Linked DNA regions of Homo sapiens: all the other regions are linked to region 3. Evidence: promoter capture Hi-C in human tissues and cell types (Jung and others, 2019). All regions are on one chromosome and are shown on one strand. The core of a region is centred on a gene start or on the middle of the fragment in contact, and the rest is flanking DNA. Distances in the headings are between cores, read along the strand shown.

What was found. The method cuts DNA at HindIII sites, captures the fragments that hold promoters and counts their contacts. A contact is called where the count stands out against the background at its distance.
Region 1: a contact is called between a fragment that was not itself captured here and the fragment with the promoter of ZNF808 in region 3, in 2 of the 25 tissues and cell types used here (adrenal gland and pancreas).
Region 2: a contact is called between the fragment with the promoter of ZNF578 here and the fragment with the promoter of ZNF808 in region 3, in 1 of the 25 tissues and cell types used here (stomach).
Region 4: a fragment that was not itself captured here is called in contact with the fragment with the promoter of ZNF808 in region 3 in 3 of the 25 tissues and cell types used here (IMR-90 fibroblasts, aorta and mesenchymal stem cells).
Region 5: a fragment that was not itself captured here is called in contact with the fragment with the promoter of ZNF808 in region 3 in 2 of the 25 tissues and cell types used here (adrenal gland and mesenchymal stem cells).

Annotation. Positions count from the first base shown.
Region 1 is chr19:52,433,942-52,436,641 of GRCh38, forward strand. It overlaps ZNF534 (zinc finger protein 534), which reads left to right. Exons shown (of 5, transcript NM_001143938.3): 3 at 14-140; 4 at 1,140-1,268. Among named protein-coding and RNA genes, the nearest start is that of ZNF534, 6.1 kb to the left of the region's middle. The HindIII fragment of the contact is 3,304 bases long and covers 1-2,700 here.
Region 2 is chr19:52,452,279-52,454,978 of GRCh38, forward strand. ZNF578 (zinc finger protein 578) reads left to right here and starts at 1,275. Exons shown (of 6, transcript NM_001099694.2): 1 at 1,275-1,329. It also overlaps the pseudogene LOC441862. RefSeq lists an enhancer at 717-1,916. The HindIII fragment of the contact is 17,654 bases long and covers 1-2,700 here.
Region 3 is chr19:52,526,274-52,528,973 of GRCh38, forward strand. ZNF808 (zinc finger protein 808) reads left to right here and starts at 1,395. Exons shown (of 5, transcript NM_001039886.4): 1 at 1,395-1,438. RefSeq lists enhancers at 14-840, 841-1,668. The HindIII fragment of the contact is 14,459 bases long and covers 1-2,700 here.
Region 4 is chr19:52,652,662-52,655,361 of GRCh38, forward strand. It overlaps LOC122539214 (Zinc finger protein LOC122539214), which reads right to left. Exons shown (of 4, transcript NM_001396016.1): 4 at 1-1,742. The coding sequence ends at 7. It also overlaps a transcript of ZNF83 not described here. Among named protein-coding and RNA genes, the nearest start is that of ZNF83, 16 kb to the left of the region's middle. The HindIII fragment of the contact is 5,670 bases long and covers 1-2,700 here.
Region 5 is chr19:52,415,037-52,417,736 of GRCh38, forward strand. It overlaps ZNF528 (zinc finger protein 528), which reads left to right. Exons shown (of 7, transcript NM_032423.3): 7 at 88-2,700. The coding sequence ends at 1,703. Among named protein-coding and RNA genes, the nearest start is that of ZNF534, 13 kb to the right of the region's middle. The HindIII fragment of the contact is 3,304 bases long and covers 1-2,700 here.

The DNA.
Region 1 (2,700 bases), core at 1-2,500, 92 kb before region 3:
GATTTCCTTTTAGGGGCAATTGTCATTCAGCGATGTGGCCATAGAATTCTCTCAGGAGGAGTGGAAATGCCTGGACCCTGGGCAGAAAGCTTTATACAGGGACGTGATGTTAGAGAACTACAGGAACCTGGTCTCCCTAGGTGAGGATAATGTCCGTCCAGAAGCCTGCATCTGCTCTGGTATATCTTTTTGCATTTTCTCTTGTGTGTCTCTCGGGAGCCCCTGCATTGCTTGACTGAGATTGAAACCTGTTGACTAAGAAATGAAAAGCAGGCCAGGCGCAGTGGCTCACGCCTGTAATCCCAGCACTTTGGGAGGCCGAGGCAAATGGTTCACGAGGTCAGGAGATCGAGACCACGGTGAAACCCCATCTCTACTAAAGATACAAAAAAGGGTGCCTGTAGTCCCAGCTACTCGGGAGGCTGAGACAGGAGAATGGCGTGAACCCGGGAGGCGGAGCTTGCAGTGAGCCAAGATCGCACCACTGCACTCCAGCCTGGGTGACAGATCAAGACTCCGTCTCAAAAAAAAAAAAAAAAAAAAAAGAAATGAAAAGCATTATGCTTTCTGAACTTGAAATGTCCCCTTACACCAGCCTGACCAACCTGGTGAAACCCCATCCATACTAAAAATACAAAGATTAGTTAGGCATGGTGGTACATGCCTGTAGTCCCAGCTACTCGGGAGACTGAGGCAGGAGAATCACTTGAACCTGGGAGGCAGGGGCTGCAGTGAGCTGAGATCATGCCACTGCACTCAAGCCTGGGCAACAGAGTGAGACTCTGTCTCAAAAAAAAAAAAAAAGAAAGAAATGTCCCCTTTCTTCAGATATTCTGCTTCCTTCATGATTCATCATTGATGGCACCAGGGCTGAAGTGTGCATGAAACCTTATGACAGACTTAAAAAATATCCAGTTCCCTGTTTTCTACCCATGTGCTTTTGATTCAGTAGTTCTTGAAAGGGGGCTTGACGTCTACATGTTACAATGTTCCCTTAGCATTCAGAAGGATGCAATCAGTGGTTGAATTTGTGAAATATTATTCTTGATTAATTTGTAATATGCTGTCTCCTACCTAAATATAGGGCTTGGACTTTGGAGATGCCACAGCACACATTTATTCTTTCTTTTTGTAAGTAGGAATCTGTCTTCCTGACCTGAGTGTTACCTCCATGTTGGAGCAAAAGAGAGATCCCTGGACTCTGCAGAGTGAAGTGAAAATAATAAACAATCCAGATGGCAGGGAGTGCATCAAAGGTGTGAACACAGGTGAGAGCTCAGGTGGGCAGAGTGGAGGCCCCATAATTTTTGTATTTTGAGAAGGGTCTCACTCTGTCATCCAGGCTGGAGTACAGTGGCAATCATAGCTCACAGCAGCCTTAAACTCCTGGACTTAAGGGATCCTTCTGGCTTGGTCTTCCAAAGTGTTGGGATTACAGGCTTGAGCCACTATACTCTGCAGAGCCACACTATTACATAGTGTTTGGGAAACTCTGCAAGTGGGTGAATTCTGTGGGAAAACCAAAGCTGAAATCCTTTGAGTTGTGAACAGACATTTTTCATTTTCTTTTTTCTGTTTTGAGATAGCGTCTCTCTCCTGTCACCCAGGCTGGAGTGCAGTGGCATGATTATGGCTGGCTGCAGCCTCACCTTCTGGGGCTCACGTGATTCTCCCACCTCAGCCTTCTGAATAGCTGGGACTCTGTGTGTACACCACCATGCCTATCTAGTTTTTTGTATTTTTAGTAGAGATGGAGTATTGCCATATTACCCAGGCTGTACTTGAACTCCTGACCTCAAGTGATCCACCCACCTCAGCCTCCCAAAGTGCTGGGATTACAGGCATGAGCCACTGTGCCCAGCCTCACATAATGATTTTTGAGTTCTAATTAACTTTCTCAGTTCTTCTTTATCTAGGAAAGCCTGAATTATTTTTGTAGATGAGTTTTACTAAATATAGTATTCTTCATTGATGTTTTTCTTATTTTTCTTCTTCTTCTTTTTTTTTTTTTTTTTGAGACCGTCTCACTCTGTCACCCAGGCTGGAGTACAGTGGCATGATCTTGGCTCACTGCAAGCTCTGCCTCCTGGGTTCACGCCATTCTTCTGCTTCAACCTCCCAAGTAGCTGGGACTACAGGCTCCCGCCACCATGCCTGGCTAATTTTTTTTGTATTTTTAGTAGAGACGGGGTTTCACCGTGTTAGCCAGGATGTTCTCAATCTCCTGACCTCATGATCCACACACCTCAGCCTCCCAAAGTTCTGGGATTACAAGCATGAGTCACCGTGCCCGGCCCTTATTTTTCTTTAAGCACTTTCAGTATCACTTCACTGCCTTCTACCCTGAAGATACCTGCTGGAAAAATACACATAGACTTATACAGTTTCCTATTATATGTCAAGTCTCTTTTTTTGTTGATGCTATCAAACTTTGTCTCTGTCTCTCTTTGACTTTTGATAATTTCCTTATATTATGTCCCTGTGTGAATGTCTTTGGGCTAATTTTAGTAATGGTCAAGCTTCTTGAATTTGTATATTCAGTTCTTTCCTCAGATGTGTGATGTTTTAACATTATTTCTTCAGTTGTGGCTTTTCATCCTTTGTCATCTTCATATGAACCTCCAATAGTTTGTATATTGTTCCACCTTATAGTCTCTCAAAAATGTATTAGGGTTTGTAAGGTTTTCTTCATCATGTTTT
Region 2 (2,700 bases), core at 25-2,524, 74 kb before region 3:
CAGCAACTTAAAAAAAAAAGTTTGTTTTTGTTTTGTGCGTGTGTGTGTTTTCTTTTTTTTGTTTTGTTTTTTTGGAGACGGAATTTCACTCTTGTTGCCCAGGCTGGATGGCAATGGCCCGATCTCTGCTCACCGCACCTTCCAACTCCTGGGTTCAAGCAATTCTCCTGCCTCAGCCTCCCGAGTAACTGGGATTACAGGCATGCGCCACCACGCCCGGCTAATTTTGTATTTTTAGAAGACACAGGATTTCTCCATGTTGGTCAGGCTGGTCTCCAACTCCCAACCTCAGGTGATCCGCCCGCCTCGGCCTCGCAAAGTGCTGGGATTACAGGCGTGAGCCAACGTGCCTGGCCCTGTGTGTTTTATAAGAGAGACTGGGACTCACTCTGTTGCCCAGGCTAGTCTTGAACATTTAGCCTCAAGTGATCCTCCCATCTCAGCCTCCCAAAGTGCTAGGATTAGAAACATGAGCCAACACACCCAGCCAAAAATCGTCTTTTCTATTTACATTCAGAGTGCGTGTAAATTTGAAATTCACTCTACGTATCGAAATTATTGACATTATGATGTCAATAAAGTTTATCGCAGAGACGTTTGAGGTTAATTCATCTGAAGTTTGGAATAGAGTAACAGGTATAAGGGAGAGCTATTTATATCTATTGTTTAAAAGTTTAAGAGTCATTTATATCTATCATCTAAAAGTTTTAGCTTTCCTTTTTAAAAGCAACATTTGGTGACCTAACTTATCCCTGGCGTTAACCCTCCATGCCCAAGGCGTTGTCCCTGGGAAATTGTCAGGAGCTGAGCACAGGGTTGATCCTCACCCTCCAGAGTGTAGGGGGAATAGAAAAGGAGAGGATTTCTACTCTGTTCTGTGGGACGACAGCATCAAATTGCATGTTCCGCCCAGGCAGGGCTTTGCATTTCATATTCTAGTTCGCTTCCTCTCCCAGACAATTCCAGGGCTTTTAAATTAAAATACTAAAATTAACTTTAATTGCAGGAACTATCTTAGGTCCAATCACTGTCCCCTACTTTGACCCTCTCATAGAGATCCCAGGTCCCAGACTGCTTGGCTGCTGGTCACCGATAGGGTCTTTCCTCAAAAACCTGGAGAACAGACGCGCCCAGAGACAGGCCGAAGGCAGCGCAGACCCCGCCCCTCACCGCCCCACCCTCTCTTCTCTCGGGTCTCGCCCATCCCTGGCCTCAGCTGCGCGCGGTTTCCTGGAAACCCGGAAGTGAATCATGGGGCGTGAACTCGCAAGCGCAGTTTCCTGAAGACCCGGAAGCCGATCGCGTGGGGAGCCGGTCTTGGAGCAGCGGGTGAGTTTCCCTTTGTCTAGATTAGATCCGCTTCCAGCGCTTCTGTACCTGGTGTTGGCGGAGGGGTTCTTACGGATCTTAAAATCCTCCCGCCGTTCCCTCCATCCTAGGTATATTAATACGTCGCCAAGAAATTCGGAGGTTAAAATCGCTTGGAGGCTGCTGGTCCTTTCCCTGAGCTCTCTGCCTTCGGGCCACGTAGACGCTTTTCGTCCCGTTTACCTGCTTAAAACCCTTTACTGACCACTCCTTCGGTCCCGCGTCATGTAAAAGCCCTCACCCATGAGGTGTATTCACGCCCAGTGGGTCCTCCAAGCCTCGCCCTTCTGGCCTCTTGGAGCTCGGTCCCGCAGTCTCGATGCATCAGCGCCGTGTCCTCTGCCCGGCCCTGGGATTTTGGAAACCCCACCCCTCTCCTAATCCACCCCCAACCTTGTCCTCCTTGGGCTGGGCCCTTGTGTTCCCCAGGTTTCCCCTTCACAACCCACATTCCTTACCCCGCATTGAGGGAGGTGACGGGGCCTGGCTTTTGACACTCAGTGTTTTTCCGTTCCAAATTGCACCCGCTGGAAAATGTGCTCTTCCAGAGGAAAAACGATTGATTTATTCTTTCCTCCTCTGAAACTCAACACGGTAGTAAACACTGAACCCAGAATACTTCACTTGTGGTCACCGAATGTGTGGGGATTTCTCCCCACTAACAAGCAGTTCTCTATCAGACATCAACTCGGTGTCCCATAATTTACCTCACTTCTGACAGCTGTACCTGGTGTAAGCATCGGATCCCACAGATTAAAGGCTCAGTCCACAAGACTTCTCCACTTCAGATGTCGGTTACAAGTCCCAGATTGGAACCTGAACTTCTAAGCTACTGGATATAAATTGAGGATTCCCATGACCCAGTCTTCAGTATTTATTAATTTGCCAGAGTAGCTCACAGAACTCAGAAACGTTTTAGTTGGGTTTACTCATTTGTTTTAAAGGATATTACAAAGGTTGCAGATAGACAGATGGAATAGCAGTTCTAGAAAATTAGTTGAATGCAGGAGAGGATTTGGGAACCGTGGTGTTTATCTGGTCAGTCAGAAGTAGAGGTGAAAACTACTACTTGTGTACAGCTTCTAAGGTGAAGGGTAGTCTTGTGGGACTGAGCTTTTCACCCATGGGATCTGACACTATCTCCTTGTAGATAGTGTAAGAATTGAGTTAAATTTTAGGATTCCCAGGTGGAAGTCTGCAAGGAACTGGTCAGTGTAGGGAAACCACACATTTTCTTGACCAGAAGTAAAGTATCCTGTGTTGAGCACGAGAGCAATGAAAACAGTTTGGTTTTTTCCTGTCTCAGTGAAGGGAAGATATTTGTAACAGGCT
Region 3 (2,700 bases), core at 145-2,644:
TTCTTGGGCCAGGCATGTTGGCTGACGCATGTAATCCCAGCATTTTGGGAGGCTGACACAGGCAAATAACTTAAAGTGAGGAGTTCGATACCGGCCAGGTCACCGTAGTGATACCCCGTCTCTATGAAAAATACAAAAATTAACCGGGCATCGTGGCACGCGCCTGTAATGCCAGCTGCTCCCGAGGCTGAGGCAGGAGAATCGCTTGAACCCAGGAGGCAGAGGCTGCATTGAGTTGAGATCTCGCCACTGCACTCCAGCCTGGGCAACAGAAATACTGTGTCTCAATAATAGTAATAATAATAATAATAATAATAAAGTAATAGATCTCTTCCACAAATGTGCTGGGACAACTAACTGGATATCCACATGGAAAAGAGTAATGTTGGATCCCTATGTCACACCATCAAAAATTTTATTTAAAAAAGTTTTTTTTTTTTTTTTAAAAAGGGAAAAGGCCCGGGCGCGGTGGCTCACGCCTGTAATCCCAGCACTTTGGGAGGCCGACGTGGGCGGATCACCTGAGGTCGGGAGTTCAGCCTGGCTAACATGGTGAAACCCTGTCTCTACTAAATATACAAAATTAACTGGGCATGGTGGCGCATGCCTGTAGTCCCAGCTACTCGGGAGGCTGAGGCCGGAGTATCGCTTGAAACCAGGAGGCGGAAGTTCTAGTGAGCTGGGATCACTCCACGGCACTCCAGCCTGGGCGACGGAGTGAGACTCTGTCTCCAAAAAAAAAAAAAGGGAAAGAGAGAGAGAGAGACTAGGAAGGGAGACCTGCCGCAGTGGGTGTTACTTTGTCGCCCAGGCTGGCTTGGGACCCCAGGCTCAGCAATTCTCTCCGTTGCTTCCTGAGTAGCTGGGACCTGAGGCTCCCGCCCCCGCGCCTCTGCTGTGTTTAAGCAGCAGGTGGTGACCTCACTCCTTCCTGGCCTAAGCACTCCGTCCCGCACCCCTGGCGGTGGCTTTAAGGAAGTCTCTGAAGCTGAGCTCAGGGTGGACTCTCCCTCCCTAGTGAATGGAGATAGAAAGGGAGAGGACATCTATTCTGTTCCGTGGGCCGTCACCATGACATCGTACATGCCGCCCAGGCAGGGCTTTGCATTTCACATTCTAGTTTGCATCCCGGTTCCAGACAATTCCAGGGCTTTGGAATCATGCCTCAGACTTTCTGGCGCTCTCGCCTCCACAACCTAAAAACAGAGACGCTAGGAGAGAGGCTGAAAGACGCGCAAGTCCCGCCCCGGCCCCGCCCCGGCCCCGCCCTCTGCCGGTTCTAAAGGGCAAGGTCTCAGCGCCTCGCGCCCCGCCGCTACCTCGCCCAGGCCCCGCCCACCTCCTCCCACCTCCCGCCCAGGCCTGGCTTCCGTCCTGCGCGCGGAGATTAACGCAAACCCGGAAGCGGATCGGGTGGAGTGAAGGTCACGTCGCCATGGTGAGTTTTGCTCTGTGTTGCATTAAGTCTCCGCTTCCCAGGTCCCCGCCGCTTCTGTCCCTGGGACGTGGGGTCCCCACAGACCTGGAAATTCTCGCCCGTCTTCCTTCGCCCAGAGCAAATTGAGACAGCCCAGTGAGAGGCCGGGTGTCGCTTCCTTTCGGGTTTAAAGTCGTCTGGAGGCTGGTCCCGTCCCGGGTCTGTCTGCTATAGGGCAATGTATACACTTTCTATTGCGTAGTTTTTCTGCTCAAAACCTTCTTCTGACTCTTCCCTCCTCGCGCTATTTAAAGTCTTCACCCACGAGGTGGATTCTTGCCCGGGGCGCACCTCCCAGCCACCCCTCGTCGGCCCCTGGAGCGTCGCGCCGCAGCCCCAGTCCCAGGGAGGCCGCGTCCTCTGCCTGGTCCTGGGATCTTGCAGACCCCATCCTTCTCCCAAGGCGCCGTCCCCCCTCCTCCCACCTCCCTACTCGTGCCAGAGCCTGCGGCTCCCCAGGTCTCTCCTCCGCAGTCACCGCTTCCATTGAACCCACACTGGGAAGGACGCAGGGCCCTGTCCTGTGACATGGGGTCTTCTTGCCTGCCGAGCTCCAGCCCTTGGAAAACGCGCTCCTCCGGGATGCAGGCGTCTTACTCCAAACCCTCCTGCGATTGTGTGGGCCGAAGGGATCAGGAGACAGACAGCAGTAGAAAACCTGAGACAGAGAAAGAATAAGAAAGGCCCATAACAGATGGCAAAATAGAGGATTGGTGAGGGATATGCCAAGATATGGTGAAAGTGGAAAAAGAAAGCAACAAAATACCTAGAAAAGCAGGTGGAGAAAAGCAACTGGAGAAATGTAGAGAAAAGCTAGATGTACACAGAGATGAAGGACGGCAAGGTAGGGAGAGTGGCAGCAAAGAGGGAGGCTCATCAGAGTGAGGGAGAGAGGGAGGGATTTGGAGCCAGGGCAGACAGAGCAGAGTGGTGCTGGTGTCAAGGAGAACCGAGGGAGAAACACAGCAGGGAGGACACCTGGGGATCTGGGGTGACACAGAGTGGGGACAGGGGAGTATATCAGGGAAGAGAGAATTTAACAGGGAGAGCAGAGGAGGCGCAGAGATGGGTGAAGAGGCAGAAATAGATGGAGATTGAGGACGATTGAAAGATTGGGGAGAAGGAGCAATAAGAGGTTAAATAAGTTGCGAGGATGGAGCAGAAGAGATGGAAGAGAAGGAATAGAGGGAAGAAGGGGGATAAACAGCAGAAGAGAAGAGGGG
Region 4 (2,700 bases), core at 152-2,651, 130 kb after region 3:
GATTCTCTAATGATTTGCAATGCTTGTAGCATTACTGAGGACTTTGTGAGAATCATTACATTTGTAAAGTTTCCCTATACCATGGATTGCTTGATGATGAATAAGTGATGACTGCCCACTAAAGGCTTTGCCACACTCATTGCACTTATAAGGATTTTCTCCAGTATGAAGTCTATGATGGCATACAAAGGATGACATATGACTGAAGGTCTTGCCACACTCATTGCACTTGTAAGGTTTCTCTCCACTATGAAGTCTATAATGGTATACAAAGGATGACATATGACTGAAGGTCTTGCCACACTCATTACACCTGTAAGGTTTCTCTCCAGTATGAACTCTCTGATGTTGTGCAAGGTTTGACTGTTGATTAAAAACCTTGCCACATTCATTACACTTGTAAGGTTTCTCTCCAGTATGAATTGCCTTATGAATTAGAAGGGATGAATTTCGAGCAAAGGTCTTGCCACACTCATGACAGTTGTAAGGTTTTTCTCCGGTATGAAGTCTACGATGGCCCACAAGGGATGACTTCTGACTGAAGGTCTTGCCACACTCATTACACTTGTAAGGTTTCTCTCCAGTATGAAGCCTATAATGACATGCAAGGTGTGCTTTTTGATTAAAAACCTTACCACATTCATTACATGTGTAAGGTTTCTCTCCAGTATGAACTCTCTGATGTTGTGCAAGGTATGAATCACGCTGGAAAACCTTGCCACATTCATTACATGTGTAAGGTTTCTCTTCAGTATGAACTCTGTTATGGCGTGAAAGGCATGAATTATGCCTAAAAGCTTTGTCACAAACCTTACATTTGTATGGTTTCTCTCCAGTATGAATTCGCCTATGTGTTTCAAGTTGTGATCTGCAACTGTAAACTTTGTCACATCCTTCACATTTGTAAGGTTTCTCTCCAGTATGACGTCTACGATGCCCTACAAGGGATGACGTCTGACTGAAGGTCTTACCACACTCATTACACTTGTAAGGTTTTTCTCCAGTATGAAGTCTATGATGGCGTGTAAGAGATGACTTGTGACCGAAGGTCTTGGAACACTCATTACACTTGTAAGGTTTTTCTCCAGTATGAACTCTATGGTGCCATGCAAGGTATTGCTTTTGATGAAACACTTTGCCACATACATCACATTTATATTGTTTCTCTCCTGAATGGGTTACATGATGTCTTCTTAAATGTGAGCTATAATTAAAGGCTTTGCCACACTCATTACATTGGAAAGGTTTTTCTCTCATGTGTTCTTCCTGGATTTGTGTCAATAATGAAGAATGGAGAAAGTTCTTCCCATACCTATTAGAAATATGGGTTTTGAGCCTACAAGAAATTCTTTGGGATGTTGAAACCAAGGAAGCATTGTTGATAGACTTCTCCACTTGATTATCAATTTTCCCTTCAGTCTGAAATTCGTGCAGTTCAGGCAGATGTGAATAAAAGCTTGATCCAAGCTGATCTTTAATAGGCTTGTTTCCAGCATGCCTTTGATCACGTCGGTCTGTACTACCAGTCAACTTTTTGATTTTTGTCATGGGTGCTTCATGGCCATTTCTTTTAATTTCTTGCCACTGAAACTCAAAGTCATGAATATCTTTCTTGATTTCTGGGAAGCAAAAATCTCCAATGTGATGACTTTTATGTCTTTGCAATGTCCCTGTGTGGATCACTTCTCCTGTATTACCGTGCCCTGTTGATGAGAACTCCGTCATGGATTTTAAAGAGCTATCTAAAAAATATAAAGACCAATAGGTTTCCAATTAAGTACAGATGGTAAATAATATTTAATACTGAAATGTGTTAATATTACACAAAAAGCAATACTTATTTTAAAATTCCCAAATATGATCTTCAAAGTTTAAGAACACCCTGTCTCTATTAAAAATACAAAAATTAGCCAGGCATGGTGGTGGATGCCTGTAATCCCAGCTACTCAGGACGCTGAGGCAGGAGAATTTCTTGAACCTAGGAGGCAGAGATTGCAGTGAACAGAGATCACATCATTGCACTCCAGCCTGGGCAACAAGAGCAAAATTCCATGTCAAACAGAGTTCAGTCAAGAGCCTCATATATATGATGCAGTAAGCCTGAATGATGTCCTCCCTAAGAGGAATTTCTACAGCAGTGACTGCTGTTTAGAGAACATGATCATTAGTTTATGTGATGATCACTGTCACAGTACCAGTGAGAGATGCTTCTGTGATGCTCCTTAAAAACCAGAACAAAAGGCCAAGGGTGGTGGCTCAGGTTTGTAATCCCAACACTTGGCTAGAGGCTGAGGTGGGCAGATTGCTTGAGACAAGGAGTTTGAGACCAGCCTGGCCAACATGGTGATTCCCCATCTCTAATAAAAATACAAAAATTAGCAAGGCATGGTGACTTGCATCTGTAATTCCAGTTAGGTTGGGAGGCTGAGGTATGAGAATTGCTTGAATGCAGGAGGCGGAGGTTGCAATGAGCTGAGATCACAACAGTGCACTCCAGCCTGAGCAAGAGAGGGAGACTCTGTCTCAAAAAACAAAACAAAACAAAAGCAGAATCACAGCTGGAAACACTTGTCAGTCACTGTCATGCTTTCTAGCTCATCTCCTGGGCCACCCTGACAATTCTGCTCAGGGCTACCAGGGGCATCTCTGCTTAGAGCAGGATGACGTTCAATTCTATTAGTCAAAGTGTTCATGAATGTT
Region 5 (2,700 bases), core at 50-2,549, 110 kb before region 3:
CAGGTGAGGCAGAATCTAGACCCTCTGTCAGACACTAAAGATGCCATTATCATGGGTTGAAGTTCCACTTTTTTCTTTCTGTTTTAGAGAGGAGCTCTAAATTGGGAAGTAATGCAGGAAACAAGCCTTGTAAAAATCAACTTGGATTCACTTTTCAGTTACATCTGAGTGATCTACAGCTATTTCAAGCTGAAAGGAAAATTTCTGGGTGTAAGCATTTTGAAAAACCCGTCAGTGACAATTCCTCAGTTTCACCGCTTGAAAAAATTTCTTCCAGTGTCAAATCCCACCTTTTAAATAAATATAGAAATAATTTTGATCATGCTCCATTACTTCCACAAGAACAGAAAGCACACATTAGGGAAAAAGCTTATAAATGTAATGAGCACGGCCAAGTCTTTAGAGCATCTGCAAGCCTTACTAACCAAGTAATCCATAACGCAGATAATCCTTACAAATGCAGTGAATGTGGCAAGGTCTTTAGTTGCAGTTCAAAGCTTGTGATACATCGAAGAATGCATACTGGAGAGAAGCCTTACAAATGTCATGAATGTGGCAAGCTCTTCAGTAGCAATTCAAACCTTTCACAACATCAAAGAATTCATACTGGAGAGAAGCCTTACAAATGTCATGAATGTGACAAGGTCTTTCGAAGCAGTTCAAAGCTTGCACAACATCAAAGAATTCATACTGGAGAGAAGCCTTACAAATGTCATGAATGTGACAAGGTCTTCAATCAAATTGCACACCTTGTACGACATCAAAAAATTCATACTGGAGAGAAACCTTACAGTTGTAATAAATGTGGCAAGGTCTTTAGTCGCCATTCATATCTAGCAGAACATCAAACGGTTCATACTGGTGAGAAACCTTACAAATGTGAAGAATGTGGCAAAGCATTTTCAGTGCGTTCCAGCCTCATAACCCATCAGTTAATTCACACTGGAAGGAAACCTTACAAATGTAAAGAATGTGACAAGGTCTTTGGGCGCAAGTGTTTCCTGACCTCTCATCAGAGAATTCATACTAGAGAGAGACCTTATGGATGCAGTCAGTGTGGCAAGATCTTTAGTCAGAAATCAGACCTTATACGACATCGAAAAACTCATACTGATGAGAAGCCTTACAAATGTAATAAATGTGGCACAGCGTTTAGAGAGTTTTCAGACCTTACTGCCCATTTTCTAATCCATAGTGGAGAGAAACCTTATGAATGTAAAGAATGTGGCAAAGTCTTCAGGTACAAGTCTTCTCTAACCAGTCATCATAGAATTCATACTGGAGAGAAGCCTTACAAATGTAACAGATGTGGCAAGGTCTTCAGTCGCAGTTCAAACCTGGTATGCCATCAGAAAATTCATACAGGAGAAAAGCCTTACAAATGTAATCAATGTGGCAAGGTCTTTAATCAAGCATCATACCTTACAAGACATCAAATAATTCATACTGGAGAGAGGCCTTACAGATGTAGTAAATGTGGCAAAGCATTTCGAGGGTGTTCAGGCCTTACTGCCCATCTTGCAATCCATACTGAAAAGAAATCTCATGAGTGTAAAGAATGTGGCAAGATCTTCACTCAGAAGTCTTCCCTCACCAATCACCATAGAATTCACATTGGAGAGAAACCTTACAAATGCACCCTGTGCAGTAAGGTCTTCAGTCACAATTCTGACCTTGCACAGCATCAGAGAGTTCATTCATGAGAGTCCCTACAAACTGTATGGCAAAACCATCATCATGAGTTCTAGCATTAATCAACATCAGTGAGTCCATACTAAGTGGAAATCATATAAATGAAATGTATGTGACACAGGCTTTATCAAGGCCTGCCAAATCACTGGACATCACCACATCACTGTGGAGGATGAAAGCACACAGATGAATTGTGTGTACTTGGGCTATTATTCAAGGACCATTGCTATAGAACACGATAGGATTTACACAAGAAGTAACTCTGTCTCTGGTTCTCTGATACTAATCTATGATATTGCATGATGCAGAATAATGCTAAGTCAAAATATGTTGAATCTCATGACCTGATGTATATCAAAGGTGCAACGGCTTGTAAATGACCAGTTTTATTCAGGCTATAAAGCATTCAATTATTTGGGGCTTATAGAAAAGGCTACTTTACTCTTTGTGACTTCGAAATCTTTTCATGTGCCTTCCATACAGGCCATTCACTGTGGTCCCTGGGAAAGAATCAGTAGGATGACAGGGCTGACTTCATTAGCTGAGGATTATTTCTATCCAATTTCCTGATGAAGGACATTGCCTTTTGAGATTAAATATTGTCTGATTTAGAGAGCATGGAGGTGGGCAGAGTAACATAAAACTGATGACCGTCATCATACTGTTGCAGTTAGCACACTTTCTCCTGACATAAGTGCACAGAGCTTCAGTGTCCACCAACTGACCATGAAATAGAGTATGCTGTAATCTTAAGGCATAGGTTATTAGTGGGAAGAGAGTAATAGGTTGCTAGTGTCTGATTATATGGTAGAAATAATGCAAGGAAAAAGGTAGCCACCTTCTCCATTGAACAGCAGTACCTGCTGTTTAGCAAAGACTGATGAGAAGTAGACTTTTTTTTTTTTGGAGATAGAGTCTCACTCTGTTGCCCAGGCTGGAGTGTAGTGGTGTGTTCTTGGCTCACTGCACCCTCCGCCTCCTGGGCTCAAGCAGTCCTTCTGCCTTAGC